Linked DNA regions of Homo sapiens: regions 2, 3, 4, 5, 6 and 7 are each linked to region 1. The links are contacts of gene promoters, found by promoter capture Hi-C in blood cells and fetal thymus (Javierre and others, 2016). All regions are on one chromosome and are shown on one strand. Each heading gives the region's core, a stretch centred on a gene start or on the middle of the fragment in contact. The rest is flanking DNA. Distances are from core to core; before and after follow the strand shown.

Evidence for each region. Contacts are between HindIII fragments. The CHiCAGO score rates a contact against its expected background, and 5 or more counts as called.
Region 2: a contact is called between a fragment that was not itself captured here and the fragment with the promoter of POU3F1 in region 1, in 1 of 17 cell types (M2 macrophages). The highest score is 5.0, in M2 macrophages.
Region 3: a fragment that was not itself captured here is called in contact with the fragment with the promoter of POU3F1 in region 1 in 9 of 17 cell types (M2 macrophages, megakaryocytes, M0 macrophages and 6 more); the score reaches 11.4 in M2 macrophages.
Region 4: a fragment that was not itself captured here is called in contact with the fragment with the promoter of POU3F1 in region 1 in 8 of 17 cell types (megakaryocytes, M2 macrophages, M0 macrophages and 5 more); the score reaches 14.4 in megakaryocytes.
Region 5: a fragment that was not itself captured here is called in contact with the fragment with the promoter of POU3F1 in region 1 in 9 of 17 cell types (megakaryocytes, endothelial precursors, erythroblasts and 6 more); the score reaches 19.1 in megakaryocytes.
Region 6: a fragment that was not itself captured here is called in contact with the fragment with the promoter of POU3F1 in region 1 in 4 of 17 cell types (M1 macrophages, endothelial precursors, megakaryocytes and 1 more); the score reaches 7.7 in M1 macrophages.
Region 7: a contact is called between a fragment that was not itself captured here and the fragment with the promoter of POU3F1 in region 1, in 1 of 17 cell types (endothelial precursors). The highest score is 5.4, in endothelial precursors.

What each region holds. Positions count from the first base shown.
Region 1 is chr1:38,044,508-38,048,838 of GRCh38, reverse strand. POU3F1 (POU class 3 homeobox 1) reads left to right here and starts at 2,046. Exons shown (of 1, transcript NM_002699.4): 1 at 2,046-4,331. The coding sequence starts at 2,096. The coding sequence ends at 3,451. It overlaps MIR3659HG (MIR3659 host gene), which reads right to left and starts at 1,705. Exons shown (of 5, transcript NR_168386.1): 1 at 1,225-1,705. RefSeq lists enhancers at 742-1,242, 1,243-1,743 and a silencer at 1,656-1,985. The HindIII fragment of the contact is 4,132 bases long and covers 29-4,160 here.
Region 2 is chr1:38,875,116-38,879,446 of GRCh38, reverse strand. It overlaps GJA9 (gap junction protein alpha 9), which reads left to right. Exons shown (of 2, transcript NM_030772.5): 2 at 3,254-4,331. The coding sequence starts at 3,349. It overlaps RRAGC-DT (RRAGC divergent transcript), which reads right to left. Exons shown (of 2, transcript NR_186075.1): 2 at 3,221-3,506. The region is part of intron 1 of GJA9-MYCBP (GJA9-MYCBP readthrough); the gene reads left to right. Among named protein-coding and RNA genes, the nearest start is that of MYCBP, 3.9 kb to the right of the region's middle. The HindIII fragment of the contact is 8,897 bases long and covers 1-4,331 here.
Region 3 is chr1:38,854,522-38,858,852 of GRCh38, reverse strand. It overlaps RRAGC (Ras related GTP binding C), which reads left to right. Exons shown (of 7, transcript NM_022157.4): 2 at 1,771-1,974; 3 at 2,946-3,145. Among named protein-coding and RNA genes, the nearest start is that of RRAGC, 3.1 kb to the left of the region's middle. The HindIII fragment of the contact is 1,043 bases long and covers 1,417-2,459 here.
Region 4 is chr1:38,838,048-38,842,378 of GRCh38, reverse strand. RRAGC (Ras related GTP binding C) reads left to right here. Exons shown (of 7, transcript NM_022157.4): 7 at 2,675-4,181. The coding sequence ends at 2,826. Among named protein-coding and RNA genes, the nearest start is that of RRAGC, 20 kb to the left of the region's middle. The HindIII fragment of the contact is 1,074 bases long and covers 1,224-2,297 here.
Region 5 is chr1:38,815,166-38,819,496 of GRCh38, reverse strand. No RefSeq gene overlaps it. Among named protein-coding and RNA genes, the nearest start is that of RRAGC, 42 kb to the left of the region's middle. RefSeq lists silencers at 1-133, 1,024-1,253 and enhancers at 2,631-3,130, 3,131-3,632. The HindIII fragment of the contact is 1,353 bases long and covers 1,056-2,408 here.
Region 6 is chr1:38,798,053-38,802,383 of GRCh38, reverse strand. No RefSeq gene overlaps it. Among named protein-coding and RNA genes, the nearest start is that of RRAGC, 60 kb to the left of the region's middle. The HindIII fragment of the contact is 542 bases long and covers 2,085-2,626 here.
Region 7 is chr1:38,778,010-38,782,340 of GRCh38, reverse strand. No RefSeq gene overlaps it. Among named protein-coding and RNA genes, the nearest start is that of RRAGC, 80 kb to the left of the region's middle. The HindIII fragment of the contact is 569 bases long and covers 1,760-2,328 here.

The sequences.
Region 1 (4,331 bases), core at 797-3,296:
TGGCAGCTCCAGGTTGAAAGCCCAAGCTTCAATATCACACAGGCCTGGTTAGGGCTGGCACGAGCATGGACTTCACTGCGGAATTCCCAGTCTTCCTCCTACCTCCCAGGCCTGGGAAAGGTGAAAGACCTGGGCTGCCTCAAGGTGACCATTCCCTGGGCCAGAGTCCAGGAAAGCCCAGTATCTCTAGCTCGGTTCAGACACAGAGCTCCATCGCAGCTCTTACAGCTAGGGTGGGACCACGGAGCCTGCTCAGGACAGTGGCCAATGGCAGGATAAGGGCCCTGCTCTGTCCCACTCCTTCCCTGGCTGGTCCTAGGGCATTCAGGGCCCACATGATCAAAGTCTGTGCCCAGGGTGACCCCTGTCACTGTCAACTCTGTCCCAGCCGCCCTGGATCGTTCCAATGGCAGCTGCCACCTGAGCCCCCAGCAACTTTTTTCAATCTAAGGATTTATTCCACAGACCTGATTTGCCCAGTGGGGCCCTAGGTGGGCCCCCAGCTCAGTTCTGTGATCTGGGACCCCAGGGCCCTGTAAGCTATAAATCCACTTGAGGCTAGATCCAGGAGAGAAAAGAGGGAGGACTGGCAGCTGAAGACTCCCTGGGACCCAAGCCTCGGTGTGGGGAAGAGGAGAAAACACAGCTCAGTACCCTCAGCCTGGGGCCCAAGGTCGGGTAAGAAGGCACAAAGGAACTGCAGTGAGGTCCGACTCCACTCAAGATCCTTCAGGGAGTCCTCAAGGGCTGGGGCGTGAGGAGGTAGCTAAATTCCACTGCCCACCTTTCCAACAAGGCCTCCTCAATCTCAATTCCCTTTTCAGCAGCTCCAGGCAAGTCCGGGCAAACTCTAGCCCAGGGCTCTTAGCGAGGCTGGACAGCTCCCGGCCTGCACGCCGGATTTCTGGAGAGCCCGAGCCCCTTCCCTGAGCCCATCCTTCTCCTCTCCCGGGGCGTGATCCCACCACGACCACAGCCGATGAGCCGTTCAAGCTGGGAGAAGGAGCGAGAAGGCTGCAGCGGCGCAGGTCAGATACCCCTGGGCCCAACGTCCACCCCCAACTAGCGCCCTTGCCAGCAGCGTTTTCCCCGGAGCCACAGTCTCCACCTCGAGATCTTCTCCTTCTGGAACCCCGGAGCGCGGCCGGGTACCAGGGGCTCGCGTAGGACTGTAGAACCGCTGCCGCCCGCCGTCCCAGCCCCAGCTGCCCGCGCGGTACTCACCTGGGCCTCAGTGCCCGGGAGAAGGTGTGCCCGCGCGAGGCGTGAAGCCAGAGTCCGTCCGACTCCGCCCGCACCGGACGCGCTCTCAGGGCAGAGGAGGTCGGCGGAGTTGTGACGCTGGGACTAGAGGAAGGAGAAGGAAAGCCGAGACGGGCCGGGCAGACGCGCCGAGGAGCGCCCAGTGCACGCTGGCAGCCGCGGGAGGCGAGGCGGGCGCGGTGAGCAGTCGCGCCGGAACCGAGCCGCGAATCCGCGCCGCCTCGCGCTCGCAGCCGCCAGGACCCGCGGGAATCCTGGTCCGCCGGCAGCGGTACTGAGGAGGGAGGGGCGCGGGGCTGAGCCGCTTCTCGGAGCCCGAGCGCCTCCCGGAGCCGGCAATCCCTGCTGCCCGGGCGGGATGCGGGCGGGAATTCAGCTCGCGTGGAATGTGGGACCGGCCGGGCTCGGAGTCTCCAGCGCTGGGGGAAAGCGGGGCCCACACAGCCAGGACGAGAGGGGGTGCGGTCCCAGGGCCACCCCCGCGCCACTCCCCACGTGGCGGCCGCGCCCCCGGGGCGTGAGTGTGTACGCGGACGGTAGGGGGGCCGTGAATGAAGCCCCAGCGGCCAATCAGCACGGCCGGCGCGCGGGACCCCGGGAGCGACGCCCAATGGAGAGCTCTGGGCGGCCGGGCAGGGTGGCGGGCGGGCGCGCGGGGCGGGGGCCGGGCAGGGGAGGCGGGAGGCAGCTCCGCGGGCAGCCAATGGGCGGCGGGCGGGGTGGGGCTCCGGAGCGCCGAGCGGGTCGGGGCTTTAAGCCGGCGGAGCGAGGCGGCGGGGCCCGCAGACGGAGCGGAGCGGCGGCGGCGGCGCGGCGCAGGGCGCGGGGCGGCATGGCCACCACCGCGCAGTACCTGCCGCGGGGCCCCGGTGGCGGAGCCGGGGGCACCGGGCCGCTTATGCACCCGGACGCCGCGGCGGCGGCGGCGGCGGCGGCGGCCGCGGAGCGATTGCATGCAGGGGCCGCGTACCGCGAAGTGCAGAAGCTGATGCACCACGAGTGGCTGGGCGCGGGCGCGGGCCACCCCGTGGGCCTAGCGCACCCCCAGTGGCTACCCACGGGAGGAGGCGGCGGCGGCGATTGGGCCGGCGGCCCGCACCTAGAACACGGCAAGGCAGGCGGCGGCGGCACCGGCCGAGCCGACGACGGCGGCGGCGGCGGAGGTTTCCACGCGCGCCTGGTGCACCAGGGGGCGGCCCACGCGGGCGCGGCATGGGCGCAGGGCAGCACAGCGCACCACTTGGGCCCGGCCATGTCGCCCTCGCCCGGGGCCAGCGGGGGCCACCAGCCCCAGCCGCTCGGGCTGTACGCGCAGGCGGCCTACCCGGGGGGCGGCGGCGGCGGCCTGGCCGGGATGCTGGCGGCGGGCGGTGGCGGCGCGGGGCCGGGCCTGCACCACGCGCTGCACGAGGATGGCCACGAGGCGCAGCTGGAGCCGTCGCCGCCGCCGCATCTGGGCGCCCACGGACACGCACACGGACATGCACACGCGGGCGGCCTGCACGCGGCGGCGGCGCACCTGCACCCGGGCGCGGGCGGCGGCGGCTCATCGGTGGGCGAGCACTCGGACGAGGATGCGCCCAGCTCGGACGACCTGGAGCAGTTCGCCAAGCAGTTCAAGCAGCGGCGCATCAAGCTGGGCTTTACGCAGGCCGACGTGGGGCTGGCGCTGGGCACGCTCTACGGTAACGTGTTCTCGCAGACCACCATCTGCCGCTTCGAGGCCCTGCAGCTGAGCTTCAAGAACATGTGCAAGCTCAAGCCGCTGCTCAACAAGTGGCTGGAGGAGACCGACTCGTCCAGCGGCAGCCCCACCAACCTGGACAAGATCGCGGCGCAGGGCCGCAAGCGCAAGAAGCGCACGTCCATCGAGGTGGGGGTCAAAGGCGCGCTCGAGAGCCACTTTCTCAAGTGCCCCAAGCCCTCGGCGCACGAGATCACCGGCTTGGCAGACAGCCTGCAGCTGGAGAAGGAGGTGGTGCGCGTCTGGTTCTGCAACCGGCGGCAGAAGGAGAAGCGCATGACCCCTGCGGCCGGCGCGGGCCACCCGCCCATGGACGATGTATACGCGCCTGGGGAGCTAGGGCCTGGCGGGGGCGGCGCATCGCCACCCTCCGCGCCCCCACCGCCCCCGCCGGCGGCGCTGCACCACCACCACCACCACACACTGCCCGGCTCAGTGCAGTGACCCCGCGGGCCGGGCCCCCGCCGGCGCGCTGCAGGGCGCGGGCGCGCAGCCCGCCCGCGCGGCCTGGACTCTTTTTGTTCGGTTGCTTTGGATTTTACAAAAAAAAAAAAAAGCCCAGAAACTTTCGAACAAAACCAAACACCCGGACGACCCTCTCCGGTGAGCGGCGAAGACAGCCCGGTAGGCTGCGTCGCCCGAGCCCCGGGAGAGAGGAGCGAAGATCCGGAACTCGCCAACTCACCCCGGGCATCCTGCCCGCCGCCTGCTCTCTGCCCCCATCCCCTCGACGACCCCCGCCCCTGCCCCCCCGGGCTGTTCGGGGCCGGATCCCGGCAGCGGCCTCCCCAAAGCGACAGGTAACGCAGTGCGGGGTTAGGGATTCCCCGGGAGAGAGGACGAAGCGAGGAGAGTTCTCCATCCCCTCTCCCCGCGTGGACTCCTGAGCCTGCGGGTCCAGGGTGGGGGGCTGTCACTTTATTCGCTACACGCCTCTTCTCTCCTATAAGGATGCGCCCCACCCCGCTTTCCCCTTTCTCCGGGCTTGGTTTTTTACGGTTTTTATTTATTCGTGGAGCCTCTCGGCTCCTGGGGTCCTTCTAACTCCGCCCGCGCCCTTAATTTAAATCGCAGTATACTGTATTTATCGGGGCCCCGGAGGGGAGGTCGCGAGAGCCGCGTCTGTGTATAAAAGCAGGAAATAGCCAAAGCTTTAATCTAGCCTAATTTATTTTTCCCCTTATATTTCCCTACCCTACCCTCCCCCCAAAAAAAAGCAAAAAAAAAAAAAAAAAACTAACAAAAAAAATTCGAGTGTTCATTTTTCGTTTCGTTTCATCCGAGCCCCGGCTTGGTTCCCGGCCACGCCGGAGGGGTCTGCGCT
Region 2 (4,331 bases), core at 1,343-3,842, 830 kb before region 1:
TTTCCTCATCTGTAAGATGGGGGAAACAACATACTTACCGCATAGGATTTTAGTGATGAACACATCTTGTATCTTAGTAGTTTGTTTGATTGTGTAACAGTTCCCTTTATATAAAGGGGACAGGACATACATTTATATTTTAAATGAAAAATAATGAAAATATTCACTTTTAAAATCTTTCCTTTGGGGTATATTTCCTCTGAGATAACCTGGGATACCAACCTTAATATGCAATCTGCCGGCAAATAATCCAAGCAGCTAAATTATAACTTGCCCCACTGCTTCCTTCAAGAGAGCAGCTATATGTCTTAAATAGGTCAAATACTGCTACAGTGAAAGTTTCCATAATACTGCCACCATACCAGTGAACAATCTATTGCAAGTAATATCTATAATGAGATTCTGGTACCATAAGGCCGGGCGCAGTGGCTCACGCCTGTAATCCCAGCACTTTGGGAGGCCGAGGCAGGTGGATCACCTGAGGTTGGGAGTTCGAAACTAGCCTGACCAATATGGAGGAACCCCATCTCTACTAAAAATACAAAATTAGCTGGGCATGGTGGCGCATGTCTGTAATACCAGCTACTCTGGAGCCTGGGGCAGGAGAATCACTTGAACCTGGGAGGTGGAGGTTGCGGTGAGCCGAGATTGTGCCATTGCACTCCAGCCTGGGCAACAAGAGGGAAACTTCGTCTCAAAAAAAAAAAAAAAAAAAAGATTCTGGTACCATAAAATAGTTGAGAATTTTTGGAGTTCTTTTTGTTTTCTGAGACAGAGTTTCTGCTCTTGTCGCCAAGGCTGGAGTGCAATGGCGCGATCTTGGCTCACCGCAACCTCTGCCTCCCAGGTTCAAGTGATTCTCCTGCCTCAGCCTCCTGAGTAGCTGGGGTTACAGATGCCTGCCACCACACCCAGCTAATTTTTTGTATTTTTGTAGAGACAGTGTTTCACCATGTTGGCCAGGCTGGTCTCGAACTCCTGACCTCAGGTGATCCGCATCGGCCTCCCAAAGTGCTGGGATTACAGGTGTGAGCCACTGTGCTGGGCTTGAAGTTCATTTTAACGTAAGAATTTACAAAATTTGGGCTGGGCGCGGTGGCTTACTATGGGAGGCCGAGGCGGGTGGATCACTCAAGGTTCAGGAGTTCAAGACCAGCCTGGCCAACATGGTGAAACCCCGTCTCTACTAACAATACAAAAATTAGCCAAGCGTGGTGGCACTTGCCTGTAGTCTCAGCTACTTGGCAGGCTCAGGCACGAGAATCACTTGAACCTGGGAAGTGGAGGTTGCAGTGGGCTGAGATCCTGCCACTGCACTCTAGTCTGGGCAACAGAGTGAGACTCTGTCTCCCCCCACCAAAAAAAAAGAAAAAAAGTATACTTTTTCATAGTAAAGTATAATAAGTACTTTATACATATTCATAAATATTACTGAGATGAATTTCTGAAAATGTTCACCAATTGCCAGGAAGAAACCAGAATTTATTTCAAATTTATTTCAATTTGGATTAAAAAAACTAATCTAAATTCCTATGACAGCCAGATCTGTTTCCTCTGGTTTCACTGAATGCCATATCTTACTGAATTATCAAATGAAGCATATTCGTTTTCCTATGTGTATAAATGAGATTTAAAAATCACTGACTTTTTGACCGGGCACGGTGGCTCATGCCTGTAATCCTGGCACTTTGGGAGGCTGAGGCGGGTGGATCACGAGGTCAGGAGATCGAGATCATCCTGGCCAACATGGTGAAACCCCGTGTCTACTAAAATACAAAAAATTATCCCGGGGGGTGTTGGCAGGCGCCTGTAATCCCAGCTACTCAGGAGGATGAGGCAGGGGAATCGCTTGAACCCAGGAGGCGGAGGTTGCAATGCGCCGAGATTGCGCCACTGCACTCCAGCCTGGCGACAGAGCAAGACTCTGTCCCAAAAGAAAGAAAGAAAGAAAAAAAAATCACTGACTTTTCAAGCCAGTAATGGCATGTTGGGGAAAAAGAAATTGACTTTGTTATAACTTTTATATCAAATAATCTTAATAAATAAGGTTAAGATCAGGTTACTAGTTTTAGAAACCTTTCCAAAAGTTCTGTTGAAAAACAACAATAGGCTGGGCATGGTGGCTCACGCCTGTAATCCCAGCACTTTGGGAGGCCGAGGTGGGCAGATCACCTGAGGTCAGGAGTTCGAGACCAGCCTGGCCAACATGGAGAAACATCATCTCTACTAAAAATACAAAATTATCCGGGCATGGTGGTGCATGCCTGTAATCACAGCTACTCAGGAGGCTGAGGCAGGAGAATCGCTTGAACCCAGGAGGTGGAGGTTGCGGTGAGCTGAGATCATGCCATTGCACTCCAGCCTGGGCTACAGAGTGAGACTCCGTCTCAAAAAAAAAAAAAAAAAGAATATAATTTTAGGCCATGCGCATTGGCTCATGCCTGTAATCCCAGCACTTTGGGAGGCCGAGGTGGCCAGATCATCTGAGGTCAAGGGTTTGATCTCAGCTCACTGCAACCTCTGCCTTCCAGGTTCAAGCGATTCTCTTGCCTCAGCCTCCCGAGTAGCTGGGACTACAAGCGCCTGCCACCACGCCTGGCTAATTTTTGTATTTTTAGTAGAGGCGGGGTTTTACCATGTTGGCCAGGCTGGTCTGGAACTCCTGACCTCAAATGATCCACCCACCTTGGCCTCCCAAAGTGTTGGGATTACAGGTGTGAGCCACCCCGCCCAGCCTATATTCTTAATAGAGAATATATACACTCCTCCTCCAGGTATCATGTTTTTTTCATTGTATTGTGATGTCTAAATATAAGTGATTTTAAATTCCTGACATTTAAGTATATTATTGGTAACAGATTCACACTTTGGCCAGGTGTGGTGACCCACACCTGTAATTCCCACACTTTGGGAGGTGAAGGCAAGAGGATCACTTGAGTCTAGGAGTTTAAGACTAGCTGCAGCAATAGAGTGAGACCCTGTCTCTACAAAAAAATAAAAAAAATTATCTGGGTGTAGTTGCACACACCTGCAGTCCCAGCTACTCAGGAGGCTGAGAGGGGAGATGATCGCTTGAGTCTGGGAGGTTGAGGCTGCAGGGAGTTGTGGTTGCAACACTGTACTCCAGCCTGGGCAACAGAGGGAGACTCTGTCTCAACAAACAAACAAACAAAGAAAAAACCCCACAGCTATCTAGGGAAAAAGTAAAGCAACCAGCATATAGAAGTGACATATTGTTATATTTTCACCATAGGTTTGCTTTAAGAAATAGTGCTCCCTTCAGAATGGAAGAATTTATCTGCCTCTTATTTGATGTGGATCAGAGCTAAGATGGCTGACTAAATAAACATGGGGGACTGGAATCTCCTTGGAGATACTCTGGAGGAAGTTCACATCCACTCCACCATGATTGGAAAGATCTGGCTCACCATCCTGTTCATATTTCGAATGCTTGTTCTGGGTGTAGCAGCTGAAGATGTCTGGAATGATGAGCAGTCTGGCTTCATCTGCAATACAGAACAACCAGGCTGCAGAAATGTATGCTACGACCAGGCCTTTCCTATCTCCCTCATTAGATACTGGGTTCTGCAGGTGATATTTGTGTCTTCACCATCCCTGGTCTACATGGGCCATGCATTGTACCGACTGAGAGTTCTTGAGGAAGAGAGGCAAAGGATGAAAGCTCAGTTAAGAGTAGAACTGGAGGAGGTAGAGTTTGAAATGCCTAGGGATCGGAGGAGATTGGAGCAAGAGCTTTGTCAGCTGGAGAAAAGGAAACTAAATAAAGCTCCACTCAGAGGAACCTTGCTTTGCACTTATGTGATACACATTTTCACTCGCTCTGTGGTTGAAGTTGGATTCATGATTGGACAGTACCTTTTATATGGATTTCACTTAGAGCCGCTATTTAAGTGCCATGGCCACCCGTGTCCAAATATAATCGACTGTTTTGTCTCAAGACCAACAGAAAAGACAATATTCCTATTATTTATGCAATCTATAGCCACTATTTCACTTTTCTTAAACATTCTTGAAATTTTCCACCTAGGTTTTAAAAAGATTAAAAGAGGGCTTTGGGGAAAATACAAGTTGAAGAAGGAACATAATGAATTCCATGCAAACAAGGCAAAACAAAATGTAGCCAAATACCAGAGCACATCTGCAAATTCACTGAAGCGACTCCCTTCTGCCCCTGATTATAATCTGTTAGTGGAAAAGCAAACACACACTGCAGTGTACCCTAGTTTAAATTCATCTTCTGTATTCCAGCCAAATCCTGACAATCATAGTGTAAATGATGAGAAATGCATTTTGGATGAACAGGAAACTGT
Region 3 (4,331 bases), core at 689-3,188, 810 kb before region 1:
AATGTAATTACTGGTGCTGTTCCCCCTGTAGGGGTGTGTTTTTAAAAATCTGAGACTTTGAGAATATTTTGCAGACCTAGTCTGTTTGTTTTCACTTTTGGGCCTTCATGAACAAATGGAGGGCTGTACACGTTTGTTTGTTTATGTTTTTGAGACGGAGTCTCTCGCTCTGTCGCCCAGGCTGGAGAATGCAGTGGTGCAATCTCGGCTCACTGCAACCTCCACCTCCCTGGTTCAAGTAATTCTCCCGCCTCAGCCTCCCGAATAGCTGGGATTACAGGCGCGCGCCACCACGCCCGGCTAATTATTGTATTTTTAGTAGAGACGGGGTTTCACCATGTTGGCCAGGGTCATCTCGAACTGCTGACCTCAAGTGATCATCCGCCTTGGCCTCCCAAAGTGCTGGGATTACAGGTGTGAGTCACCACGCTGGCCTACACTGTTTAGTGAGGGTTAAATAGAGGCAAGGTTGACTTCCTCCATCAGCCAAACCCATTATACGCGGAGTGAGCTGGTAATAAAACTAGTATCAGCAGGCACCTGGTCTTTTCACCTCTCCACTCTGTTGCAAAGGCCTATCCAAAATAAATCTGTGATTTTTTTTTCTTTCTGAATCTGTGATATTTTGTAGATGGGATCTTTTTAAAAAGCAGCGTTCTTCCAGGTTTGCTGGAGTACTGTGTTTTATTTACCTTGATTTTCACCTCTACAGCAAAACTTGGGTACGTTGACTGTAGGTTTTTAGTAAACTAATTTCAGTTATTCACATTTGTTACTGAGAAAACCTTGAGAGTAATTGTTCACTTTTCTCTTCTAGACAGTAAGAGGCAAAGTAGTTTTATGTTAGAACTGTGTAGGTTGTGATTATTGTGATCCTTTTTTTTTTGTTTGTTTGTTATGGAGTCTTGCTCATCGCCCAGGCTGGAGGGCAGTGGTGTGATCTTCACTCACTGCAGCCTCCACCTCCTGGGTTCAAGTGATTCTCCTGCCTCAGCTTCCCAAGTAGCTGGGACTACAGGCGTGCACCACCACGCCCGACTAATTTTGGTATTTTTAGTGGGGATGGGGTTTCACCATATTGGTCAGGCTGGTCTCGAACTCCTGACCTCAAGTGATCCGCCCGCCTCGGCCGCCTAAAGTGCTGGGATTGAAGGCGTGAGCCACCGCACCCGGGCCGATTATTGTGACTCTTAACAATTGCCTTTACGTTTCTTTTCTCATGAGAGCTATCTTTTCCCTGTCAGTCCCCGTGGCCTCCCCCTGGACGTTTTCACTTTCTACTTGGTATAGTTACTGCCCTTCTTAGACTGCAAAGTCAGTGAGGGCAGAGTCCAGTCTGTTTCACTTTTTAAATTACTCCTCAGAGCCTGAGGTAGGCATTCAAGTAATTTTTGAATAAACCAGACTTCTTAAGCTTTAGCTGTAAGACTTTTATAATCTTAAAGCAGATTTTGGTAGAATTAATGTTAGCTTTCCCCCAGAAAAACTAATGGAGGTGATAGAGATTGCTACTATTAGTACTGAGTATGGTGCATAGAACATAGGAGAAAAGATTTAGCTCCAAAATAGATTTAATGGAAATTAATTTGGTGTCTTCTTTTGTCAAAAATAAAGGGATAGTGAATACCAATGGATTCACCATTCAGTTTCTACTTTTCAAAAAAAATTTTTTTTTGTGGGATCAAATGTTTAAATGTTAAACCAGGGTGGAATTTTAAATTTAAATTCTGAAGTTTAATAGTCATAAAATTGCCTGTTTTCTTTTAACAGGTGGTGTTTCATAAGATGTCACCCAACGAGACCCTCTTTTTGGAAAGTACCAACAAGATTTATAAGGATGACATTTCCAATAGCTCCTTTGTGAATTTCCAGATATGGGATTTTCCTGGGCAAATGGACTTTTTTGACCCAACCTTTGACTATGAGATGATCTTCAGGGGAACAGGAGCATTGATATACGTCATTGACGCACAGGTAGTCAGTAATGTGTTTACTCCTCTTTCCTGGTGGGAAAAAGATGTAGAAACAAAGGAAAGTTGTTTATCTTCTTTGTCATGTGGTTGCAGCTTATCTCTTTGGCAGTAGATTCCCTAACAGTGTAAGAGATGCAGTTGCAGAGTGCTTTGGGAGCAGACATGCATTGTGCAGGTACAGAATATCAGATGATTAGGAGATATGGTTTACATCCTTGAGTCCTAGTTGATGAGCAGCTAACATTGGCTTTCCACTTTTATTGGTTGCCATATTTTATAATAATTTTATAATAATAGTGATGTTATTCCCTGAAAATATCCCATCCCATAACATAAAGAGGAATATGAGAACTGAGTCAGTAGATATTAGAGTGAATAGTTTACTTAATTGTCAAAATTGAGTTTAGCTCAACAAACATTTATGGAGGGCCTAGCATGTGGCAGTCAGTGAGATGAATGGGGCAAGTCCCTATCCTTTAAGAAGCTTACTTTTTATAAGCTTAAGCATTAGTTAAGAATGCTTTCTGAGTGATAGGCTCTACAGAGGGTGCCTTCACGTACAGGACCTAATTAATTTAAGCTTCACAATATTGTTAGGTAGGTATTGTAATTCTGATCTTACAGATGAGAAAACTGAGATCAGAGTTTAAGCAGCTTGCTTAAAGTGACACACTGAATAAATGGCAGAGCTGGGATTACTTAAAAAAATTATGTTGGGAAAAAATGTTCATATCATTTTTTTCTTTCTTAAATTAATATTAAAAATTACAAGCATTAACTTGGTAATTGAATTTTTTTATCTTGAGACAATTGAAGAGTTATTTAGTAGTATAGTATATTTGAATGTTTGAATATTGATGATAATTAGGATAGTATTTTTCTGTGGTTGGGGAAAGAGGTGGTTTGAGGCTTTAACTCATTACTTGGCTTTTGTAAGATTTATTTTAAAAAATATTTTGTTCTGACTTACAGGATGACTACATGGAGGCTTTAACAAGACTTCACATTACTGTTTCTAAAGCCTACAAAGTTAACCCAGACATGAATTTTGAGGTTTTTATTCACAAAGTTGATGGTCTGTCTGATGATCACAAAATAGAAACACAGAGGGACATTCATCAAAGGGCCAATGATGACCTTGCAGATGCTGGGCTAGAAAAACTCCATCTTAGGTAACAACATGTGTGTTTGATATGAAAGCCCTGAACAAGGTGTAAATGTATTCCCATCTCTGTCATTACAAACACCATAGCTTTCTGCTACCTGTGTGCCCTTTGCCACATCTTTTATGTTTTTGATCTTGTTGTTGAATTCCAGGCTGTCTGGGGAGCCTGATATTGAGAAATTACCCACTTTTTGCGTTTTCCTGGAGATTGAAGTCATGTGAAGTGTTTCCACTGGTGCTTTTCCAAATTCATCTCAAGAGACTGGAGTCAGGCTGTTTCTTCATGGCATAAATCTGCTTTGGGACTCCTTCCTCTTGGTTTCATTACTTTTCCCCGCCTTGCATCAGTGAAGTGAATCTGTCACATTTGTTGTGGAAGTCTTTAGCTTGAGTCTTAGACAGTATCTTTCTCAGTAGGAACAGCCTTATACAGAGAGTGCACTTTCAAATCTGGACTGACTCTTTTTATTTTTCATTTTTATTTTTCCTGCTGGCTCCCTTCCACCTCCCCCCTGGACTGACTGTAATATATCTTAGCTTTTAAAACACTTTATACTTTTATGAAACTCTATAAAGTTTGGCTTAGGTGGGTTTATCTTATAAATGTGCATAAGGCTGCTATTAAATTTAGAGGACTATTGGTTTGTAACTACTGTTAAGAAATTATTATTAAATAATACCTACTTGATAGGATTGATTTGTGTATTTGCATTCTAAAAGTGTATGAGGAATATTTTTGTACATCTTATTTTATTTGGTGATATAGGTAGAAATGAGTATTAAAAAGTACCCAAGAAAATATTCTCTTGACGATAGAAGTAGCTTAAAGAGGGAGAAGGGGAGAGAGACAGCAAGTTATTTCTCTGTCCCCGTTCTATTGTTGTGACTTCTTTATGGGCTCAAGCTAACTGCTATCCCTCCCCCTAAAATTCTCTGGGTCTCAGGCTCCAAGATCTTTCAGTTATTCTTCTAGGAAACCATGTCGAAAAGTCTCATTGACCTCTAGTTTGCCTGGATTAAATTTCTAAATAATTTGAAAATAATTCATGTTAAAAAAATAAAAATTCAGCAATGTTTGTAGGAGAAAATGTAAGTGGCTCTCCACAAAAATTCAGTCTTATTTTTTTGGGAATCCACTGCTAATAGTTTTTTACCTGGATTTTGAGCCGTTCTTGTCCTGTGTTCCCCAGTGC
Region 4 (4,331 bases), core at 511-3,010, 790 kb before region 1:
CTTCTTTCACATTTTACCTGTTCCATATATATTTATCTTTTTTTGCACTGATTCTTAGCAGTTCCTTATTTTTCTCTATGTTAGTTTATTTGTTTATTTATTTTTTTGAGATAGAGTCTCGCTCTGTCACCCAGGCTGGAGTGCAGTGGTGCGATCTCGGCTCACTGCAAGCTCCGCCTCCCGGGTTCATGCCATTCTCCTGCCTCAGCCTCCCAAGTAGCTGGGACTACAGGCGCCCGCCTGCACGCCTGGCTAATTTTTTGTATTTTTAGTACAGAAGGGGTTTCACTGTGTTAGCCAGGATGGTCTCGATCTCCTGACCTCGTGATCCACCTGCCTCAGCCTCCTGAAGTGCTGGAATTACAGGCACCCGCCACCACGCCCCCAGCTAATTTTTTGTATTTTTAGTAGAGATGGGGTTTCACTGTGTTAGCCAGGATGGTCTTGATCTCCTGACCTTGTGATCTGCCTGCCTCGGCCTCCCAAAGCGCTGGGATTATAGGCGTGAGCCACCGCGCCCAGCCTATGTTAGTTTATTTTTTTATTTGTGTTTTTATTTTGAGATGGGAATCTTGCTGTGTTGCTCAGGGTGGTCTTGAACTCCTGAGCTCAAGCAGTCTTCACACCTCAGCCTCTCACATAGCTGGGATTACAGGTGTGCATCACTTGTGCCTGGCTCCTAACCATTTTAATCTTAAAAAAATTTTTTTTTTTAGAGTGGGTGTGGTGGCTCACACCTGTAATCTCAGTGCTTTGGAAGGCTGAGGTGGGAGGACGCTTGAGCTCAGGAGTTCAAGACCAGCTTGGGCAAGATAGCAAGACACTGTCTCTACCAAAAAATTAAAAAGTTAGTTGGGTGTGGTGGCTTGCACCTATAGTCCTCTCTACTCAGGAGGCTGAGGCGGGATTGCTTGAGCACAGGAGTTTGAGGTTACAGTGAGCTATGATTGTACCACTGCACTCTAGCCTGGGTGTCAGAGTGAGACCCTGTCTATAAAAAAAAAAAAAAATTTTTGTTTATGGAAATTTTCAGGTGTATACAAAGGTGGAGCAGCACGAGGAGTCCCTATGCATTCAGCTCCTGGGTTCAGCCCTCATTCCCACACACTTCAATCATGTTTCCTGGAGAGCTTCTCAGTTATTATAGATTATTAAGCTTTTTTATTTTATTGTGGAAACTGTCAAATATATAAAAAAGTAGAGAAAACAGTATAATAAAAGCTTTTTAATCCATTGCCCAGATTCAGTAGTTATCAAAATTATAGCCAATTATGTTTCATATTTATACCACTTTCCCTACTGGATTATTTTGAAGCAAAGGCCTGACATGAAATCATTTTGTCTCTGCAGATTTCAGTAGGTATCTCTAAAAGGTAGTGGTTTTTAAAACAATAAACAACAAAATTAACAGTGACTTAATGATATCAAATATCTGGCCAGTGTTCAAATTTCCTTGATTGTCTTTTATTTTACATTTGGCACAGAAATAAATTTTAATGTAGTTGAATTGATCAAAACTTGTCTTTTATAGTTTGTTTCTTTTCTGAGTCTGAAGGTCCACCTTAATTTGGCTGTAACCTACTTATTCAGACCTGATTCTTAGTATTTCCTACCAAGAGTTCTCTGATGTCCCACTCTCCAGTCAGACCATTTTTTTTTCCTGTCTTCCACCTGTGCTGTATTCTCATGGCCAGGTCCCTGCAGTTTTCTTGTGATTTTGTTCCCCTTTTCTGCCTAATTAAATCGTGTCTGTATTCCCCAAGTTCTTTCTTGTCCCTGAAGTTTTCAGTTGATTACTTTGCCCTGCACTTGGCTTTTTCTTTGGATTTCCTTCACAGTTGTAGTCAATTTGACACCAGATTGTTTTGGTTTGTTTCTTGTATTTTGGCTTTATGCCTCAGCTAGCATATCCTGTCTGGAAGTCATGGACCATATCTGCTGTTTCCTTTGACATATTGTACCCTCTATCGTGCTGTGTAATAAGTATTTACTGACTTTCATCAAATCAAATATAAACTATTGAAAGATCACACTATGTTCAAGCAGGCCACACAGTGTATTTGAATATTTTACTTTTCTTGAATGTGAATTGAGTGATTTGAAACTTGGATGCCAGAGGTATTAATTTGGCCAAGGTGATGGTCTAATTGCAATCGCATTTGTTTTCTAGCAGAACGTTATGATGGTGGATATATATGATGACCAGCTGTTCTTTTTTTTTTTTTTTTTTTGAGTTGGAGTCTCGCTCTGTCACCCAGGCTGGAATGCAATGGTGCAATCTTGGCTCACTGCAAGCTTTGCCTCCCAGGTTCACGCCATTCTCTTGCCTCAGCCTCCTGAGTAGCTGGTACTACAGGTGCCCGCCACCATGCCCGGCTAATTTTTTTTGTATTTTTAGTAGAGACGGGGTTTCACCGTGTTAGCCAGGATGGTCTTGATCTCCTGACCTTGTGATCTGCCCGCCTCGGCCTCCCAAAGTGCTGGGGTTACAGGCGTGAGCCACTGCACCTGACCGATGACCAGCTGTTCTTACGATTGAAGAAGTTGCTATCTAGTTTGGAGGCTTAAGAATTTCCAACCAGTGTTTATCCGAGTTATTTTTGGCTGCAAACCCAAATATAAAATTTCACAATTGACAATTCAGGAGGCATTCTTTTCTTTTTCCTTCCTGCAGGTTTAATAGACTACAACTTCCACTGTTTCCGAAAAGCTATTCATGAGGTTTTTGAGGTGGGTGTGACTTCTCACAGGAGCTGTGGTCACCAGACTAGTGCCTCCAGTCTGAAAGCGCTGACACACAATGGCACGCCACGAAACGCCATCTAGTCTGAATCCCAGCGTCGGGGCTCTGTGCCAGCTTACTCTTCACTCCAGGGTCGGATGCCACGTGCTACAGGACATGGGAGCTGCTGCTTGTGGGAATCTGGTGCCTGTTCCACTAGAGACAAGGGGTAGAGTTTCTCATTTGGATGAAAACCCCTTCAACTGGTGGTGTACAACTGAAGCTACTATATCTTTTTTGAAAATGGCAAAAAAAAAAAAAAAAAATTCTGGAGACCACAGAACTCAAGTGTGTGTTTCTCCTCTTTTGGGTCCCCTTTAAGTAGTTGGGATATTTTGGACCTGGAGATAACACCAGTTACCCATCCTTACCAGGGAATGTTGCCATCAATTCCAGTTGAAAATAATAGAAAAGACTGAATTTTTATATGCTTCACTTAGGCTTTCATTTGAGTAGACTCTAAAAATTCTGCCTTGCTTAAGTTCTAACACTGCCTCTCAGATTTCAGTTTTGGACATTGCACAACTAAGACCTTTTAAATGCATTTGCTTGCTAACTCGGAAGACACATAGTCTGCAGCAAGACATTCCTATATTGAAGAAATGAGAGAAAATTTTATGCTGCATCAGGTGGAGAGCAAGGCTCAACGGTGGTTGCATTAGTTCCCTCGGAAGTATTGAAAAAACTTTGAAATGGAAGAAAATTTTTGCACCTATGTTCTGAGTACCAGATGTCTGGGTTCTTTCTTCTGCATTAGATAAATGATCATGCTCAGTGTAACAAAGGGAATTAAAAGTTTTCCCACAGTCCCCTTCTAGGGGAGAAACTCATTGTGTCACTGAAATGTTTAGCTTACTTTAATCTTGATATCAGCCTCTACAGACCTTTTATTCTAAGCTATCGAGCTTCTTGATTGCATTTGGTTGACCACGAGTGACCCTAAGGCATTGGGGGACTGTCCACTGGGAGTTGGAGTGAGCACGTGGTGCTGCAACAGGCATTGTTTTACATACTTTGTCTCTAGTATTCTGACACCAAGTGTCAACTGTGGTACTTTCTTTGCCTAGGATATGAATTCATAATTGTTGCTTTTGTTGATGGTTGATACCCTTTCCATTGATTTAAACCTAACACATTATTTCTATTCCACATGCCCAGTAGACATATATTCCAAAGCCACTGGACCACTTGAGTACATAAGTGCCACTGTTTAATGCAATATGTATATTCAGGTCTGTAAAGCTAACAGTGTGACTTGGAGTGCTTCCTGCAGGTGATTCTGACTTGAGTATTTACATGGACCATGGTGATATCCAAAAGAAAAATGCTTTTTATATTTATAGATTATTTCATTGAACTATATATGAAATGGGTATCAATAAATGTATTTACTCCAAAATCAGCGTTTCTCCTTGCCTGAGGTATGGAGGGTGGTGGCGGAACGTTGGGTTGTCCCACTTTGCCGTTTTCTCATCCATTTCTTTTTCTTTTGCTGCTTCCTGTGGTTAATGTTTCTTATGTGTCAGAGCTTCAGGTTCTATCCCGATGT
Region 5 (4,331 bases), core at 483-2,982, 770 kb before region 1:
TCAGTGACCCGCCCCCCCCGGGCTCCCACCTTCCCCAGCCAGGTCAGGCATCAGAGAGCTACCATGGCAGCCACAGATGCAAATGCATATTGCTTGAATTATTTATTTTATTATTTTTTTAAAGCTCACCCTTTAATGAAATACCTTAAATATGTAGGGTAGTCAAGACTCACAAGAGAAGGCTAGACTCGATCCCTTCAGCGCCCCTTCAGCGCCCCTTCAGGCTCTCAGAACTTTGATGGAAAACATCCCGGAAGCTAAAAAACTGTATTTACCTTCCCCAGCCCCACCCCTACCCCTATCCCGGACACTGTAATTTAGAAGCACGCGTTTATTTGTAGGATTATTCATCGAGTCAATCTTCCCCACCAGATGTGATTCTCACGATTGTTTTTTGACTGCCAATGGTCAGCTAAGGGTTTAGTAGGTATTTGGCGATGGGGAAGCATTGGTTGCATGCATGATGGGTGAATGCTGAGGGGTCTGACTCGGCTGTGGATGGAAGGAAAAAGACCTCCTCCACCACCACCCGGGTCTCAGTGAAGGACGGGTTGGGAGCGCTCCAACAAGAACCACTGCCTGTCCCCCAGCCCGGACCCGCGGCCAGGGAGGAGGCCCCGGGGAGCCCTGGAAGGCGCCGCGGGGAGGCCTGCCTTCCTGGAAAGCCACGCTTGGAGCTGTCTTCAAAAGCGGCGACGCAGCCCCCGGCGTTTGAGCACGAATAAATCATTAGCATTTTATTTACAATTCTGGGTTTACAATTCCTGGAAAAGGATCCTGCTGTTCAGTGCGGATTCCTGCTTTGCAGGATTTCCCCAGCGCCTCCTTCCACCTCTCGTCTAGGGGGACTGGGTTCCTTAAGACTTCCCTGGACGGGAGTGCGGTGCGGAGTGGATGGGGCGGGTGGTCTCGGGAAGGAGGGGGCGCCGTCCCTCGGTCCTGCGTTTCCCGACGACCCCGAGCAGAGGAGTTGTATCCTCTCGGTTTTACCGAGAAAGGACGGTTGATCAAAGAGGGCTGGGCGTGCCCAGGGTCACACAGCTCGCTCTGAAGCTTGCGCCTAAGTCCCGGGTCTGGGAACCCCGCCGCGCAGCCGCGGACCCGGGAGCCCCCAGCGCTCGGCCCGGCTCCGGTCCCCGACGGCGCCCCGCGTGGCCGCTAGATGGCAGCCTTGGTCTCCGAGGCGGGCGGGCGGCCGCCCACCCAGGGTCCGGAGGGGCCAGCGCGCCGCTCCGCGGAAGGCGCTGTCGCTGGCACCCTAGCCCACGCTTCCGGGGCCCCAGTGACCAAAGCAAGGAAAGAGTTCCAGAAAGCAGCCCAGGCTCCCCTGTCCGGAACGGAGCGGGGGCTTGCTCCGGGCTTACCCGGAGCGGGGTCCGAGGCGTGGCGCTCTGGGCTCCGTGTTGGGGTAGGCTCCGCCGGGCGGGGGCGCCTTCAGCCCCTCTTGGGCAATGCCGGCCGCGCGCACAGGGCCCGGGGACGGTCGGGGCGAGACCGCGTGGGGTGAAATCCGCGGCAGGAGGCCGCCTGACTGTGTCCTGATCCGGTCCCTTTAGACGTGACCCATGGTCAAGCCTTCTACCTATCTCCCCTCTCCTGCTCCAGACCTAGGCATGTGGAGTCTCTCCCTAGCTGGGAGAGGCCGCGGGCCGGTCCCTGCCTGCCTCAGCCCCAGCGACCTCCACCCAGAACCCACAATGGCAGGTGGAGGCACCCGCCCATCCCCGCGGCGGCACCTGTGGGCGAGCAGAGATTGGCATGTCTCGGAGGTTGGCACACGGATGATTTGGGCCTCATCGGAGAGAGACATCTGTGTGGGCAGAGGAGGTGGTGGTGCTGGGCAAACCGTGCCTTCCCTACATCAGAGGGGAGGTGGGACTCAGGGGACTGGGATCAGTCCTGTTGTCTCTGGAGTGTGCACCGATATGAATTCATAGGTTCGTTTCATTGGCCCCTTTCTTTGGGCCTCAGAGTGGTAGGTTCTCTGCCTTTAAGGTCTGACATTACAGTGCTGGGATCTGCCTGACGTGCAGGGGAGGTCTACAAAGGACCCTCTCACCTCCCTTCTCTATTCATGCTTCTTCTCTGGATGTGGCTTCTTTCTTTTCTAGGAGGAAGGGGCTCAATTTTGTGAATTTGACCTGGCCTACAGGTCATCTTTGTGCACTGGGCAGCAACAGACCTGAACTGTGCTTCAGATTCTGAGAAATTGGACTTTGTCTTGGCCCTTGGAGGTGGGGACACTGAGGCCTAGAGGGGGAAGGCCTTTGCCAAGGTCACTTGGGGCATCCAGCTTTCCCAGTCCAGGACTCTTGTTGCTGCCAGGCCTTCTCAAAAGACATCCTCTAGATCCCAAAGTCCTTGCAAAGTTCTATACTTTGCATTGCTTTTGAAAATCATCTGAAGCTTTGTCCGAGTGCATGGGCCATTAGGTCCTAGGAGTAGAGTTGGGCACTGAAGGGTGTTGTTCCTCAGGATGGCTCTCCAGGCCTTGTCTTCCCCGGTCTGGGCCGTACAGGTCAGGTCAGATGAAGGCAGTTGGGGACTGGTGGTGTGAACATCCCTTGATCCCATCAGTAGCCCCCTGGGAAAGCCACGTAGTACAAGGATGTGAGTGGAATTGGTATCTGCCACATGTCCCTCTGTTAAGATCACAATTTCCATGACAGAGTCGCTCTCTAATGGAGCCTGTCAACTCGGCTTAGGCCCCAGTGGCTCAGAGCACACTTCCACGAGAGAGGCGGTGTGGGATCTGAGGCATTAACTGTGCCTTGTACTGGGAGGAGGCATAGGGCGGCAGAATACCTTTTCGAAGTCCCCTTGGAAACCAGTACCCGGCACCTATCATGCCTGCCATCTAATTACCCGGTAATTATTCCACACAGCCATGCAATTGGCCAGGGTCGCAGGGAGCCCACCAACAGCCCAAGGGGGAAGGTGGCTCTCTCTAGGGGCCTGCAGCTCCAGCTCTGGGCGAACAAGCCGCCTCTGAAGCCGCTGGAGAAGTACCCCTTTGACAGCACGCAAGGGCCTAGAGCAGCCGTCTTTATTGGCAGCCGGAGAGGCTGTTTGGGGAAATGGAAAAACTTGTGTCGGCGGCGTCAGTCTTGTAAAGGGGTAGCCAAGCAGTTTGCAGCGTGTTCTGTTCCTCGCGCTGCTGCCACCGCCTCGGCTCCTCAGAGCCTGCCGGGGAGGAGCGAGGGGGAGGAGGTGACCGAGTTCACGTCCCCACCGCTGCCTCTCCTGGAGTGATGGATGGCTGTCTGCTCAGGCGGGGGAGCGCCTGCACAGCTCTGCAGGGTGCGCGCTCAGACTCCCACACCTGGCGCAGAGGCTTCAGCAAACTCCCATGTCCCCCAGTGCTCGGAGAGTATGAGCTCTGGGTCAGTTAGCCTGGCTGGTTATTTCGGGTTAATGAGACCGTCCTTTTCAGTTTCACCCCGATCTGTGACAATCTCGCACAAACATCTGTCGCCTCCTCTGGGCTCCGCTCCGCCCTTTTACCGCAAACCCAAGCGTGTCTCCCTGAGGCTTAGGAGGTACCAGGATTCACCCGAGTCTTCTGAGGGTGGCACTTGGGTTAGGGAACAATTTACTCATGACGAAGACAGAGATCAGAGGGTAGGTATTGGGTCATTTCTTCTTTAAAAGATGTTACATTTTAGAATTCCATTAATTGAGGGCTGTAGTTAATCCGTTAAGTACGGGAATAAGGTTCTATTTTGTCTTTCTTTTCTTTCTACTCCAAAATGTTCTCAGTAAGTGTTCCGTAGCTGGGAATTCTGCAATCAAAACCTGGGTGTGGGGAGTGAGGGTTGGGGAGGAGAACCCCCCTGCCCCCACCAGAAGGGGCCTTGATTTTGCAGTTTGCCTCATGTCAGGGGATCATTGAGTTTAGTTCTTGATGAAAACCAAGTCTCAGCTGTGACTTCAGTGCAGGACTTGTGGATGCTTCTGCTTCTGGGGGCCAAGGTGCTTAAAAATGACCTCACCAACAATAACGATGATGAAAATAATAATGTGCAGCAGTTTACATTTTTCTTGGGCACCTAGTATGTGTCAGATACTGTGTACTTTATCTCTATTATTTCGTTTAATCTTCAGATCAGTCTTGTAAAATAGGTGTTACTGTTATTCCCATTTTACAGTGGAAGAAACTGAGGGTCAGAGAGATTAATTAACTTGCTGAAGTGACACAGCTGGAAAGAGACAGAGGCAGAACTCAGCCCAAGTCCTTTTGATTCAAAGCCTTGCACTTAATTGGTCTGCTCTATTGCTACAGAAACCTACAGTTATCTTGTTGAAAAGCATATTTGTAGTTTGGGGAAACA
Region 6 (4,331 bases), core at 1,106-3,605, 750 kb before region 1:
GTTTGTGAGTGAGCATGGGGTCTGGCCACTGTGCAGTCAGGCATGCCAGCTGCTGCAGTGGGGTGGGCAGCTCCAGGTGCCAGCATGGGCACCAGCTCTCTGTGAGGCTATGGCTGGACGAGGCACACTGCAAGCAGCTTCCATGGCTGGCACCAGGGAAGGCGGTGGTACCTGGAAGCTTGGAGATGCCAGGAACCACCGGTCTCCAAAGAGGGAGTCACAGCCCTGGCTTAGGGAGCTCCCAGGTCTGGGCTCCCCAAAGGGCCACAGCTCCTCTGTACTTCTCTTTGTCCGCAATGTGGTGAGCAAGGGGCGTGTTTCAGCCCTGTTGGTGTTACAGCTCTTTTAGCCTTGCCATTCGATGGGTCCCGAGTTCTTGTCCTGTGACCAGGAAGAATGAGGTATGCAGGCAAGTAGAGAGTGAGTAAGATGAAGAGGAGCTTTATTGAGTGATAGAACAGCTCAGAGGAGACCCTCAGTGGGTAGCTCTTTTCCACAGCCAGGGTGTCCCAACGAGTATTCAGCTCCTATCAGAGAGGAGACCCTAGAGTGGGAAGCTCCTCTCTGCAGGCAGGTCGTCCTGTCATCTCTGCAGCTCTCAGCAGAAAGGGGGCCCTAGAGTGGGTTGCTCCTCTCTGTAGGCAGATACTCCCATTGTCTCCCCAGCTCCCAGCAGAGAGGAGGCCCTGGTGTGGGTTGCTCCTCTCTGCAACTGGTAGTCCCGATGTCTGCCCAGCTGTCAGCAGAGAGGAGGCTGTGGAATGGGTAGCTCCTCTCTGCAGCTGGTGGTCAGGAAGTCTGCTCAGCTCTGGCTGAGCCTAGGGCTTCGATGGGCCTCAGAGGGAAGGAAATGCATGCCGATTGGTCCATGGGTCACCATGGGCAGGCCCAGAAAAGGCACCGCAAGTTTCCAGTCTGTTTCCCTGGTCCCCGGGACTGGTAGCCCAGCTCCCAGCCTTCAGGCCTTCCCTGGCCTGAAGGTGGGGCCTCACTGGGGATCCACCCCTTCCACCCAGGAACCTATCTGCCTCTCTGCCATTCATGGCATCCAGACTATAGGTGCCAAGGGTCACCTACAGGCCAGCATCAAGCTGCCCTCAGGACCCCCTTGGCTTCCTTCCTGTGCTCATCAATACCCAGACTGGAGCGGGCTGAGGCGGCAGGGGGGCTGGCATGTCAGCATTGCCCTGAATGTGTGCACACCTGGCCAGGCTGCGACAGCGCCCTAGCTCGACCCCGACTTTGCTCAGAGATTGGGGCGGGCACTGACAGCAGGGAGAAGCCAAGCAGTGGGAACAGGCACTTCCAAGCCTGTGAGAGCAGAGGGGTCCTTCCTGGGCTCCTAAGAGTGCAGAGACGCCGGGGTCTGCAGTCTCCATTTGGGCAGCTACAGCTGCGCTTGGGAAGGTGGGGCTCCTGCTTGCTCCCAGCCCCAACAAGAGCACAGGGAGGCCTGGGTCCATAGCCACTACTTGGGCAGCTGCAGCTGTGCCCAGGAGGGCAGGGATCCCGCCTGTTCCCAAGCCCTGAGAACACAGGGATGCCTGGGTTCTGCAGCTGTGGCTTGCATGGCTGTAGCTGCACCTGGGGAGCTCCTGCCCCAGCTTTTATTGCACTTTGCTTTATTGCACTTTCACAGAAAATGCATTTTTTTTTTTTTTAACAAATTGAAGGTTTGTGGCAACCCTGTGTTGAGCAAGTCTATCAGCACCATTTTTCCAACATGTGCTCACTTTGTGTCTCTGTGTCACATTTTGGTAATTCTTACAACGTTTCAAAATTTTCATGATTATTATATCTGTTATGGCAATCTGTAACCAGTGATCTTTGATGTTACTATTATAATTGTTTTGGGGTACTATGAACTGTGAACCTAATCCAATAATGTGTGTGTTCTGATTCCTCCACCAACCAGCTATCCCCTGGTCTCTCTCTCTCTCTCTCCTTGGGCCTTCTTACCCCCTGAGATATGAAAATATAGAAATTAGGCCAATTAATAACCCTACAATGGCCTGTAAATGTTCAAGTGAAAGGAAGAGTCTCACATTTCTCACTTTAAATTAAAAGCTAGAAATGATTAAGCTTAGTGAGGAAGGCAGGTCAAAGGGCAAAACAGGTCAAAAGCTAGGCCTCTTGTCTAAACAGTTGACAAAGTTGCAAGTGCAAAGGAAAAGTTCTTGGAGGAAATTAAAAGTGCTACTCCATGAATGATAAATCAGCCTTATTGCTGACACACAGAAAGTTGGCGTGGTTTGGGTAGAAGATCAAACCAGCCACAACATTTTCTTAAGCCAAAGCCTAATCCAGAGCAAGGCCCTAATCCTCTTCAATTCAGTGAAGGCTGAGAGAGGTGAGGAAGCTGCAGAAAAAAAGTTAGAAGCTAGCAGAAGTTGGTTCATGAGGTTTAAGGGAAGGAGTTCTCTCCATAACGTTAAAGTGCAAGGTGAAGCAAGTGCTGATGTTAGAAGCTGCAGTAAGTTATCCAGAAGATGCAGCTAAGATAATTGATGAAGATAGCTATGCTAAGCAACAGATTTTCAATGTAGACAAAACAGCATTCTATTGGAAGAGGCTGTCATATAGGACTTTCAAAACTAGAGAGAAGTCAATGCGTGGGATCAAAGCTTCCGAGTACAGACTGTCTTGTTACAAGGGGCTAATGCAGTTGGCGACTTTAAGTGGAAGCCAATGCTCATTTACCTTTCCAAAGATCCAAAGACCCTTAAAAGTTACTAAATGTACTCTGCCTGTGCTCTAGAAATAGCAAAACAAATGTTTTCTATTTATGACAGCACATCTGTTTATAGCATGTGGTTTACTGACTATTTTAAGCCCATCATTGAGACCTACTGCTCAGAAAAAGATTCCTTTCAAATTATTATGCCAACCAGCAATGCACCTAGATACTCAAGAGCTCTGATGGAAATATACAAGGAGATGAATGCTGCCATAGATAGTGATTTCCCCAGTATATTTGGGCAAAGTAAATTGAAAACCTTCTGGAAAGGATTCACCATTCTAGATGCTGTTAAGAACATTTGTGTGTGACTCATGGGAGGAGATCAAAATATTAACATCAATGTGAGTTTGGAAGAAGTTGATTCCAACACTCATGGATGACTTTGAGGATTTCAAGACTTCAGTGGAGGAAGTAACTGCAGGTGTGGTGGAAACAGCAGGAGAACTAGAATTAGAAACAGAGCCTGAAGATGTAGCTGCATTGTTGCAATTTCACGATAAAATTTTAATGAATGGTGAGTTGCTTCTTATGGATGAACAAATAAAGTGGTTTCTTTTCTAAAAATTTTATTTTTAACTGCTGTGGATACATAGTAGGTATATATATTTATGAGGTATATGAGATATTTTGATACAGGTATACAATGTGTAATAATCACATAAGGGTAAATGTATCTATCACCTCAAGCATTTATAATTTCTTGGTTTCTTGAGATGGAATTTACTGCTGGTGAAGTTGCTGTGAACATTGTTGAAATGATGACAAAAGATTTAGAATATCAGATAAACTTAGTTGATAAAGCAGCAGCAGGGTTTGAGAGGACTAAGTCCAATTTTGAAAGAAGTTCGTCTGTAGGCAAAATGCTATCAAATGGCATCACATGCTACAGTGAAGTCTTTCATGAAAGGAAGAGTCAATAGATGCAGCAAACTTCATTGTTGTCTTATTTTAAGAAACTACCAAAGCTACCCAACCTTCAGCAACCACCACCCTAATCAGTCAGCAGCCATCAGCATGGAGGCAAGACCCTCCACCAGCAAAAAGATGACGACTCGCTGAAGGCTCAGGTGATCACGAGCATTTTTTAGCAACAAACCATTTTAAAATTAAGGTTTAGACATTGGTTTTATAGACATAATCCTATTGCACTTAATAGACTACAGGATAGTGTAAACATAGCTTTGATATGCACCGAGAAACCAAAAAATTGGTGCAACTTGTTTTATTGCAGTATTTGCTTTATTGTAATATTTGCTTTATTGTGGTGGTCTGGAACCAAACCTGCAATATCTCTGAGATATGCATGTACATTCAAAAATTCAAAGATCAAAGTAGTAGAAACATGAATGCATTGAGAAGTCTTGCTTCCACCGCTGGCTTCCCTGTCGGGGGTTCCTCATGCATTTGCTTTTATATGTGTGTCTTGCCAGGGTCTTTTATACAATATTCATTATACCTCTTATGTATTTAATTATCTTATTGATGAATGTTTAGGTTTTTCAGGTTTTCCTTCTTTTCATTTTTCTGGTGATCACATAAAAAAGCTGCATCAAACATCCTTGTACATACTTTTTGCACATGTATGTGATCA
Region 7 (4,331 bases), core at 795-3,294, 730 kb before region 1:
GCATCTCTGTGTCCTGCAATAAACAAGAGGGCATGAAACACATGTACAAGTGTGTGTGGCTGTTTTCGCTCATATCTTTTCTAGAGAGACTTTGAAGAAGGTGTGTGGATGCAGCTCATTTGTTTGTTTTTTGGACCATCAGGTAGAATGTCACCACCCTCCATTTCCTTACTTAGGACCTGCCCCAGTTAGGGTTACAATGACCAAAATAGCCAGCCAGGCACTGTGCCAGTCCCACTGACACAATGGGAAACAGAGACCCTCAATAGTGTACCATCTATTGAGAAATTGAATCAGTAAACAGGAAGTATACCGTCTCATGACTAATGCTGATTTGGGGGAAGAATGTGGCTGAGGGAGCCTGCAGGAGAGGCACTCAGCTGGTCCAGAAATCTTTCTAAGAGGAAACCTGATGAAAGGGACTGGGGTGCAGGGAACAGCAAGGGTGTTTCAAGCATCAGAAATGGCTGGTCGGAAGGACCTAGCCAAAGTTCAAGTGGCTGCTGTGGAAGGCTGAAGAAGAAGCTGAAGTCACATCACTGAGGCCTTTTCTGCCATGCCAAGGAGCCTGGACTTAAGAATCTGTACTTTAGGAGGATCACTCTGGCTACAGTGTGGAAAATGGTTTGGAGTGGATGTGAGACAGGAGGCAGTGTGTGATTAGAAGGCTGTTACAGGTATGACCTGGGTTCAGGGAGCAAAAGACGTCAAGGAGAGGCACAGGCTTTAGTAATCGCAACCGAGTGAGGTCCTGCTGTCTAACTTGAGTAACTGGATGGATGGGGAGGCTGTGCTTTAAGATGAGGAACTTATGAGGAGGAGCATGTTGGGGTGGGAGGAAGATGAAAATTTCAGACATGTTGAGTGTGAAGTGCCTGCAGTCCAGGCCAGCTTCATGGGTGTGTGACCCGGGTGGTCGCCCTGTGCTCAGGAGGGCTCTGAGTGTGTTTGTATGCTCTTCTATCACCATCTTGAAATTCTTAATACATTTTTTTTTATCAGGGGCCTTGTGTTCTCATTTTCTTCTGGGTTTGTGTGCAGTTCAGCCAAGTGGAAAAGTCAGGCAAGCAGCTTGGGATCTGGTTCTGGCAGTCAAGGCTGGAGAAAGAAGCCCGGGATGCTTCAGCATAAGGAGAGGTACTTAAAACCCTGGGAGAGGATGGGCTCACTGCGGGACAGCATGAGGAATGAGAAGAGAAAAGAGTCACGGGTAAGATCCTGAGATCCCCAGCACTTTAGGATCAGCCTCTAAGAGGGTGGGACCTCCAAATGCAAAGACCCAGTTACCTGTTGCCATGTTTTGCCTTTTGAGATGAGGCAGTGAAGGTTAGCCACTGTCTTAGGTCTGAGGAGCGTCTGGATTGGTCTCAGGTTATCAGCTAAATGGCAAATCCAAACAGCACATGAAAAAAAATTATGAGAAAGTATCTATAGCTATTATTAAAGACATTTGCAGCACTCTCCAGATTTCAAAGTATCTTCATCCATTCATTCAACAGATATTTATTGAGGCTGGGCATGGTGGCTCACACCTGTAATCCCAGCACTTTGGGAGGCTGCGGCAGGAGGATTGCTTGAGCCCAGGAGTTCAAGACCAGCTTGGGCAACATAGCGAGACCCAGTCTCTAAAAAAATAACAAAAACAAAAACAAATAAAAACAGATATTTATTGAGTATCTACTATGTGTCAGGCACTGTGTTGGCTGCTAGGGATGTATCAGTGAACAAAAGGGACAAAAACCTCTACTCTCATGAAGCTTCCATTGTAGTGAAGAGAGATAGACAGTGAGCAATAAACATAATACATTCATAAATTTATTATGAATTTATATTAGAAGGTGATAACTGCGTTGGAAAAAATAAAATCTCACTTAACTTTTCTTTGTGAAGAAAAAAAAGCGTTTTGTCTCAGGTGATATGAGACGTCATGTATGAGCCCTGGGGCTCCATCATTGTCCTCAGGTTTGGTTTCATTCTCTGCTTCCTCTGTGCTGATTCTATTATCAGGCAGATCCTACCCTCGTGGGTGGTCAGAGATGCTGAGCAAACACCCAGGTGCATATCTAGTAGAGCAGAGTGAGTGTCTGCTCCCACCTTGCTGGCAAAAGCCCTGAGAGACACTCCAAGTGGACTGGCTTAGGTCCTTTGCCCTCCTCTGAGCTAGTCTTCTCCCCTGTAATCTTTGCAATCACTCAGTGGGGAAGCTGCCATTTCCATTTCCCAGGAGGGGAAGACTGAGGCCAGGAGAGGAAGACTGAGCTTCCCAGGGCTGTACACTTAGAAAGTGGCAGACCTGGGACCTAGGCCCAGGCTGTCTGTCCCTAAGCTTGTGTTGTGTCCACAAGAAGTTCCAAGGCAGAGTATAAATAAATTTAAATACATCATTTCTCCCCAAACCTACTTTAAGGTTTAAAGGTGGCTAATTAAAATAACCATGAAAGACTTAATTAGGGACATGGTTAGGCAACAATTGCTTACAAATTCATGGGAATCCTAAAAGTATAGGGATTTAGACATTTAAAGACTCTCCAGTCTAATCCTTGCCTCTGATAGGCGAGGAAATTGACGTCTAGAGAAGGGAAGGAACTTGAATGGTCACTCAGCAAGTGGAGAAAGGGCAGGGCTGGGAGGGAGGCTAGGATTCTGTTAATCTGGACCAGCGTGAGTGGATCAAACCTCTCCGTGGTGTGTCTGAGCCATTCAGCAGCCACTTAGATTGTCTATGCTGGGCTAACATCTACCAACTGGATAAACACTAGATTGTCTAATGAATATTCACGGCCTCTTAACAGCTTGTTTGCCAATTTAACTCCCCACTAGTTTTCCTTGGTGATAATAATAATAAAATAATAATCATACCACACCCTTATCGAGCAGTTACTGGATGCTAGATACTGTACCAAGAGCTTTACCTGTATCAACATACTTAATTGCAGCAGCAGCCCCAAGAGATAGGAGGTATTTCTAATCCCCATTTTACAAAGGAGACAACTGAGCTTTAGAGGATGAAAAACTCACCCTTGGTCTTGGATAGTGAGCGCTGGAGAGCCCAGATGTAAATCCAAGTCTGTTTGATTCTCTAGCCCAGGATTTTAATCACTGGAAGAGCAATAGTTCTTTTTTCTTTTAAAAAAGAAACTTCAGCCGGTTGCGGTGGCTCACACCTGTAATCCCAGCACTTTGGGAGGCTGAGGTGGGTGGATCATGAGGTCAGGAGATCGAGACCATCTGGCTAACATGGTGAAACCCCGTCTTTACCAAAAATACAAAAAATTAGCCAGGCGTGGTGGTGGGTGCCTGTAGTCCCAGCTACTCGGGAGGCTGAGCCAGGAGAATGGTGTGAACCCGGGAGGCAGAGCTTGCAGTGAGCCGAGATTGTGCCATACGCTCCAGCCTGGGCGACAGAGTGAGACTCCGTCTCAAAAAAAAAAAAAAAAGAAACTTAAAAATTAGGATTGGATACAAAGTACAGCTTGTCACTTTCCCAAACACTACCTACCAGCACATTTCTTTCTTTCTGAGGTTAAGTCAGCCCCTGCTGGGGATAGAAATCATCAGTTAAGTAACAAAGTGCACTTAACACCACTGAGGTTTAGAGCTAAAGGCCTTGATAAGGTGCTTGACTGGTTCAAAGAGATTTTGAAGCAGAATGAAGCAGAACACCATCAAGCCCTGGGACAGAAGCCTTCACCATCCTCTGCATGGTGACATGCCTGTTTGGAAGGATTTATGCATCTCTGTCAAATGTATGGTCTGCGTGGGCTTTCCCCAGGTGTCACTGCCATCAACAATGTCAAGAGAATTATCAAATCAAAATAAGCACAACAGCTACCACTTCTTGAGTGCTCCTGTGCTGAACCCATTAAGAGCTTTGTGTAATTACCTCGTTTAATCCTCAGAAGAGCTGGTGGGAGAACAGAGGTAGGTAGGTCCTGTGAAGTAAGTACAATTAGAATCTCCAATTCACATAAAATAAACTCTAGTCTTGCTTAGAGGGGGTTAAAGGACTTGCAGAGGGTAATAGTTTCTAAGTAGCAGAGCTGGAACTTGAACTCAGGTCTTTGGGGTCTAAAGGCTGCCATTCAGCCACCATGCTATACAACCTGCCACAGAGGCTCAGAGGCACTTCAGAGGTGACTGAGGCGGAGGTTAGAACAGGGCAGGTCCCAAAGCAAGCTGCTGGAAGGTCCAGGACAAGAATCCAAGTGTCCTCACTCCTAGCCTAGCACCCTTTCGAACACACTTAAGAGCTATTGAGCAGCTTATTCTTCAGTGATTCCTAAAACTGTCCCAGAAGAAAAATTGATGAAAGTTTTTTTTTTTTTCCTAAA